Linked DNA regions of Homo sapiens: region 1 is linked to region 2. The links are contacts of gene promoters, found by promoter capture Hi-C in human tissues and cell types (Jung and others, 2019). All regions are on one chromosome and are shown on one strand. The core of a region is centred on a gene start or on the middle of the fragment in contact, and the rest is flanking DNA. Distances in the headings are between cores, read along the strand shown. Region 1 has its middle 5.9 kb from the start of BPIFA3. Region 2 holds the start of EFCAB8 (EF-hand calcium binding domain 8).

What was found. Contacts are between HindIII fragments. The study calls those that stand out against the background at their distance.
Region 1: a fragment that was not itself captured here is called in contact with the fragment with the promoter of EFCAB8 in region 2 in 2 of the 25 tissues and cell types used here (bladder and dorsolateral prefrontal cortex).

Annotation. Positions count from the first base shown.
Region 1 is chr20:33,209,810-33,213,121 of GRCh38, reverse strand. It overlaps the pseudogene BPIFA4P. Among named protein-coding and RNA genes, the nearest start is that of BPIFA3, 5.9 kb to the left of the region's middle. The HindIII fragment of the contact is 4,421 bases long and covers 1-3,312 here.
Region 2 is chr20:32,857,275-32,860,172 of GRCh38, reverse strand. It overlaps EFCAB8 (EF-hand calcium binding domain 8), which reads right to left and starts at 1,250. Exons shown (of 27, transcript NM_001143967.2): 1 at 1,167-1,250. It overlaps LOC119746555 (a long non-coding RNA gene), which reads right to left. Exons shown (of 1, transcript NR_171378.1): 1 at 1,422-2,898. RefSeq lists an enhancer at 571-1,383. The HindIII fragment of the contact is 16,025 bases long and covers 1-2,898 here.

The sequences.
Region 1 (3,312 bases), core at 84-2,583, 350 kb before region 2:
ATGTATATGTATATATATATACACACACACACACACACATATATATGTGTTTAACATACATATGCCTAACAACTGTACAGAACTAGGGGCTGGAACCTTAATCCAAAGGCGAATTTCCTTAAAATGGCAGGGGAAGAGAGAGTGGGGACCGTTTCTGAATGGCATATTGGGTTTCACAAAGGAAGAGTTGACCTTTTCTGGGTTCTGAGGGTAGCCTGGAGAGGGCAAAGGGAAAATGGAAATGCTGGAATTTCCAGGGGAGCATCACCGAATTTTGGAGGGAGAGATGGGACTTGTAAAAATGCAGATTCTTAGGTCACCTCTGATGAATTGAGTCAGGCTCTCTGAGGGGGATCCTGGGAATAAGCTTCTGGACAATTCTGATGCACACGGTGTGTGAAGATCACTTAGCTGAAATAATAACAGTGATACCAGCTAACAGTTATTGAGTGCTGACTGAGCTCCAGGGGCAAGCTAAGTGCTTTACCTGTAATGACTTATTGAATTCTCAACACAACCCTTTGCAGTAGGCACTGTTATTATTGGCCTCCTTTTGCAGAGGCACAGAAATGTTAAGTAAAATCCCCAAATCCACCCAGCTGGGGAGGGGTGGGGCTCAGATGGGAACCAGGTAGCCTGGCCTGCAGAAGGGAGCTCAGAGGAGCTGTTGCTCATTCCCCACCAACTGCTTCATCCCACACCCCATTCTGCTGCCCAACATGATCCTCAGCCCCCATTCCCCCAGGCACAAGCATTGCAAGGAGAGGCAGGAAGAATAATAAGGGCAGATGGATGTTGAGCCCTGACTCTGGAGACACTTGTCTAAGGACACACAGCTGATAATGTGGAGCTAGGATTTGAACTTGGGCTGCCTGGCTCTGATAGGCTCTACCTTGTTTCTGGATAAATTCACTTACAGCCCTTAACCTTCCCTCGCAGGGGTCTGCAAGCTTGTTCTGTCCGGCTGCATTTCCTCTTATATACTACAGAGGCCAATAAGATTCCGTGGAACACACATGGCAAATACCAACATTTTCAGTGAGTTGAACCACCAGATAGACTGAAGACTGCAGGTCTCACCATAACCATGAACACTCTGGACCACAAGGGGGCAGGAACCAACCTGTCAAGTCCCGGGGCTTACATAGCAGGAGTGTTCTCAGGAGGAAAGGAGCAAGGCAGGTCATTAAGGATAACCAGCCAGGCACAGCCTCACCTGCCCTTAAATGTCAGCCAGTAGGAAGAGGAAACCGGCATGGGTCCTTCTTTTAAAAATGCACATTCAACCTGTTTGATCATTAATTTTATTCTTCAGCCAACTTGGCTTCTCTTCTGCTTCCTGCTGCGTTTCTCAAAGGGACCAAACTTGCTTTCTCTCTTCTTCCATTTTCTGCTTTTGGATCCCAATCCCCCTTTTAGTAATTTTCTCCAACACATGTCACCCCATATTTGCTCATTTTGCTTTACCTGATCCTAAATTCTCGTGGTTGCTGGAGATAGCTGCAGCACTAAATTTCTTCACCCGGATCCTCTGGGAATTGGGGAGCTGTCTTTGGGAGAGGGATTGTGTGACTCTGAGGGTGACATTCTCCATGCTATTGTGCAGTGTGTGGCAGCTCCCAGGAGGGAGCCTTTATCAGGGAGTTGGCAGGTTTCACTAAGCCCCTCCATGTGCCAAGCAGTGAACAGGACAGATAAAAATCCAGCCCAGTGTTCAGCCCTGAGGTTGGAACAAGCTGAGGAGGCAGCACAAGAAAGCCAGTGTGACCAGAGCAAGTGAGACAAGGGGAGAGTGGTGGGGACGGGGTCAGGAACATGCATATGGACACAAACAGTGTGCCCACAGGCCCAGTGAGGACCCAGACTTTCATTCTAAGGCAGACGTAAGTTTGAGTCCTGACTCTCTCATTCTTAGAGGTGCAGCTTGCACACATCACTGCACCTCTTTGAGCCTCAGTTTTCTCACTTATTCAAGGGAAAACAACAGTTACTTCCTAGGTTTATCATGAGAATTAAATTAGAATAATACTTTGGAGAAGGAAGCCATATTGTAAAAAAAAAAAAAAAAAAAAAGAAAGAAAAAGAAAAGAAAAAAAAAATGATGGCCGGTTGCAGTGGCTCACATCTGTAATCCCAGCATTTTGGGAGGCTGAGGCAGGTGGATCACTTGAGTCCAGGAATTTAAGACCAGCCTGGCCAACATGGTGAAATCCCATCTCTACTAAAAATACAAAGATTTGCTGGGCATGGTGGCACACGCCTGTAGTCTGAGCTACTCAGGAGGCTGAGGCAGGAGAATTTCTTGAACCCGGAAGGCGGAGGTTGCAGTGAGCCGAGATCACACCACTGCACTCCAGCCTGGATGACAGAGCAAAACTCCATCTTAAAAAATGACCAGAGGTTGAAGGTGAGGAAGGAGAGGCAGTGAATAGCAGCATATGTTTTGGGAAGTTTGGTGATACAGGGAAGAAAAATGGAGTTACCAGGGCCAGGATAAGGTTTCTCCCATAAGTCACAACTTTGTAGGCTGTTCCTGCCTGAGGGCGCTGGGAAGATGAGACCAACATTCCCACTGCACAGTGATGAGACTGTGGCCAAGAGGATGGAGCCACTCAAGGTCAAAAAATCAGTTCAGAAAACATCCCAGACAAGACAGGAAACCTTTTTAAAATTTTAATTAGCCTTTGGGAAACATCATACCAGAGTGTTCAGATGTTTATGAGATAATGGATAAATCAACCCAAGTATCCTCCCCTGCTTTTCATACTTTTGTTATCATGACCAGACCCACCATCATCTCTGGCCACGTTGCCCCCATCCACATGGCGCTGTGGAAGCTGGACAGTTTGCAGTTCAGAGCTGCTAAAAATTTATTGTGGGAAGATTACAGGGAATCAGCACATGGGTTCTGGTGAGGATTTACAGGGAAATAACCTCCATACCCGGAGAAGCAGGGGCTCTTTTGGTCCAGGGTGGGTCATGCAATTCCAGGCATCAGCTGAATAATCAACACGATCTACGCAGGTGGTGTCCTGGAGTGTGGAGGACATTCCAGGGAGGAGACTAGGATGCAGAAGCTGATTCTGTGTGAGATAATCCAGGTATTAGTAAATTTCACACCCTTTCTTCCGGTCAGAACGGACAGCCTTTCCCGCTTCTGCCCTCCCCCTCCGCACTGGCGTGACTGCTGTCCGTGGTGCTGAAATCTATTCCTGTCGGGACACCCATCCACTGCCTCTCTCTGGATAACGTTTTCTCATTGTTTCCCTGGACTTCCTCTCATCAATTAAGGTGGCTCTTCCTCGTCGCCTT
Region 2 (2,898 bases), core at 1-2,500:
CCATGCCCAGCTAACTTTCGTATTTTTAGTAGAAACAGGATTTCTCCATGTTGGCCAGGCTGGTCTCAAACTCCTTGGCCTCAAGTGCTTTCCGCCCGCCTTGGCTTCCCAAAGTGCTGGGATTACAGGCGTGAGTCACCGCGCCTGGCCAAAATAAAATGCCATGTAAACCAAAGAAAGGCTAAGGAACTGTTAGAGATGAAAGGTGACTCAAGAGACCCAACAACTAAAGGCAATGCACGATTCTGAATTGAATCCGATTGGGAAAAAACAAAAATGCTGCAAGGGCTGTTATTTGGTGAAATTATGTAAAATTTGAACATGGACTCTATATTATTAGATAGCATATTAATGTTTTCTGCTTTTGATAACTGTATTGTGGTTATGAGAATGTCCTTGTTTCAGGAAATGTACACTGAAAAGTATTTAGGGGTAAAAGGGCATGATGTCTGTAATTCTCAAATGGTTTAACAAGTAACATGTATAATAACACAAATGTGGCAAAATGTTCACAATTAGTCTATCTGGACAAAGGGAAGTTCTTTGTAGTAGTCTTACAACTATTTATATATTTTTAATTATTTCAAAACTAAATATTTTGTAAGATAAATGTCTTTCACCAGGAGAAAGTGGTTCTATGTATGTTCATGAACAGAGGTAAAACGCCAAATGGGAAAAAAAGTGCTGGTTGCTGCCAACAGAGACCACCCAAAAGAAAAGGGCAAAAGCAAGAGGGGAGAGGCCAAGACAAGTACCATTCCTCCAACTCTGAAGGGAAGGAAGGGAAGGCTGAGATGTAAAACTCGGTTGATATTTAGAATTGGAGAACAGGTCAGATCAGAAGTCACATCCATCTGCCTCAATCTATTCCCTAAAGTTGACCTGTCCGGAGCTGACGGAAGAGGGGCAGGGCAAGGCAGGTGGGAGAGTACCATCCAGAACAGGGGTGAGAATTCAGAGCAGCCACTAGGGGAACATGCTAGGGATGAGAGGGGAACGAGTGGTTTGTACGAATTTGTAGAGGCAGATGACTTAAGGATACATGCATTGAAAGCCAGCCAGGACACAGATAAGAGCTGCTCTCCAGCCTTGGAGGTCAGGCAGAGGTCTTCAGCAGAGGTATCCAATCTTTTGGAGAGCAACTTTCACCTAAAACCCTCACTCACCCTGACTCAATTTGATCTCCTCAGTTAATCTTGCTGGCAAAGTCTGGCAAAGTGCTAACACTTTCCAACTCCCATCTCAACAAAGACATTGGCAGCTGTTCCCAGTCCAAGACAGCTCCTTTATGAAGTCGAGATGGAACTCTGGGTCTGCTGGTCATATTTAGAACTAGGGAAATGAGACAGAATTCCGTATGAAGAACATAAATGAAGCATCAGAACCCGTCCCACAAACCATAATCACAGAACCATTTTTCATCCAATTTGAAACATTTCTTTTATTGAAGAAGTTGAACTTACAGCAGACAGTGAAAGGAGTTACAGCACTCCAGGACAAACACAGACATAAAATAATACATAAAACAAGTAGCGGGAAACTGGAAGATGCCAGGGAGTCCTCTTATAAAAGCAGGGTTCACCAAAACCAGAAGGCCAACTGGCTCCAGGACAGCGAAAGGCACAGTGGCTCCTCTGCTCCTCTGCCTTCTGCCCCATTTGAAATGGGGGACTTACAAATCCAGACTTCAGGGCAGGCCTAGACTTGATGCAGCCACTGCAATCTTGGTCCATGGTGCAATTTGGCAGACAAGTTGGTGAAAGGTAAGTTGTCTCCAGAGATTTCAATCAGGGACGTGGCTTCCAGATGTTAAAAGATACCCAGCTAAGTCACAAGGAAGTGGATGTTTTCAAATGCTAAGTGACCACCAAACAAAACATTCTCCCTGGGCCTTCACCACTCAGAGAACACCAACATACAAAAACAAAAGTCTGTTCCCATTTCATCAATAATGGAGTTTTAAGGATTTTGTCATAGTGTAGAATATTAAGAATGGATGAATAAAAAGTCAAAAAAGGTGCAGAGGTCCTATAAATCAGGGTTTATTAGACTAGATATTAATAAATTGGAAGGGTTTAAAAAAAAAAAGGCTGTTGGCCCTACATATGACAGTTTCCCATTGTTTCTTAGCTTAGTATATTTATTTTCCAACACAATGTTAGCAATTCTTACAGCAGTTCTTGCATTTTTCCAATAACATTTTTATTAATCAAATGGTATATATTTTTCACTATAACCTATTTTCACTGATTAATACATTTATCAGTATTTTAATGTGGCCTAAAATATGCTAAATTCTGTCACAATAAATATGTTTTTCCCTCCCTGGGGAGAAACACAAGTAAAAAAAGGAAAATATTAAGATGCATTCCACTTTTTAGTTAAGGAAAAGTTCAGAAAACTCCCATCTTTTTAAAAAAGAATGAAAATATGATCCTAAGTAACTCAGGTTAGAAAAACAGTAACAGAGCCAGGCGCAATGGCTCACGCCTATAATCCCAGCACTTTGGGAAGCTGAGGCAGGAGGATCACTTGAGCCCAGGAGTCTGAGATCAGCCCAGGCAACATAGTGAGACCATGTCTCTATTAAAAAAAAAAAAAAATTAAAGAGAGAAAAAAACAGTAATAATAAAACAAGTGGGGAGGAGGACATTTAGAAGAAAAATCTAGATAAACCTCTGCACAAAAATAATTTTGGAAAAAAGTTAGAAGTCCTACCTGAGATTAATTCAGGCGTCACTGGCTAATGCTAAGGGAATTCTGATTGGAAGGCAGCAACTCAGGGGCCCAAGGACCACATTAACAGATGCAATTACCTGCCCTAGAGAAGGCGCTTCCTCACACTCCCACTTAGCTGCAATGCCAATACTGTCCTTTCAAGCTTCAACCCTGTGATTT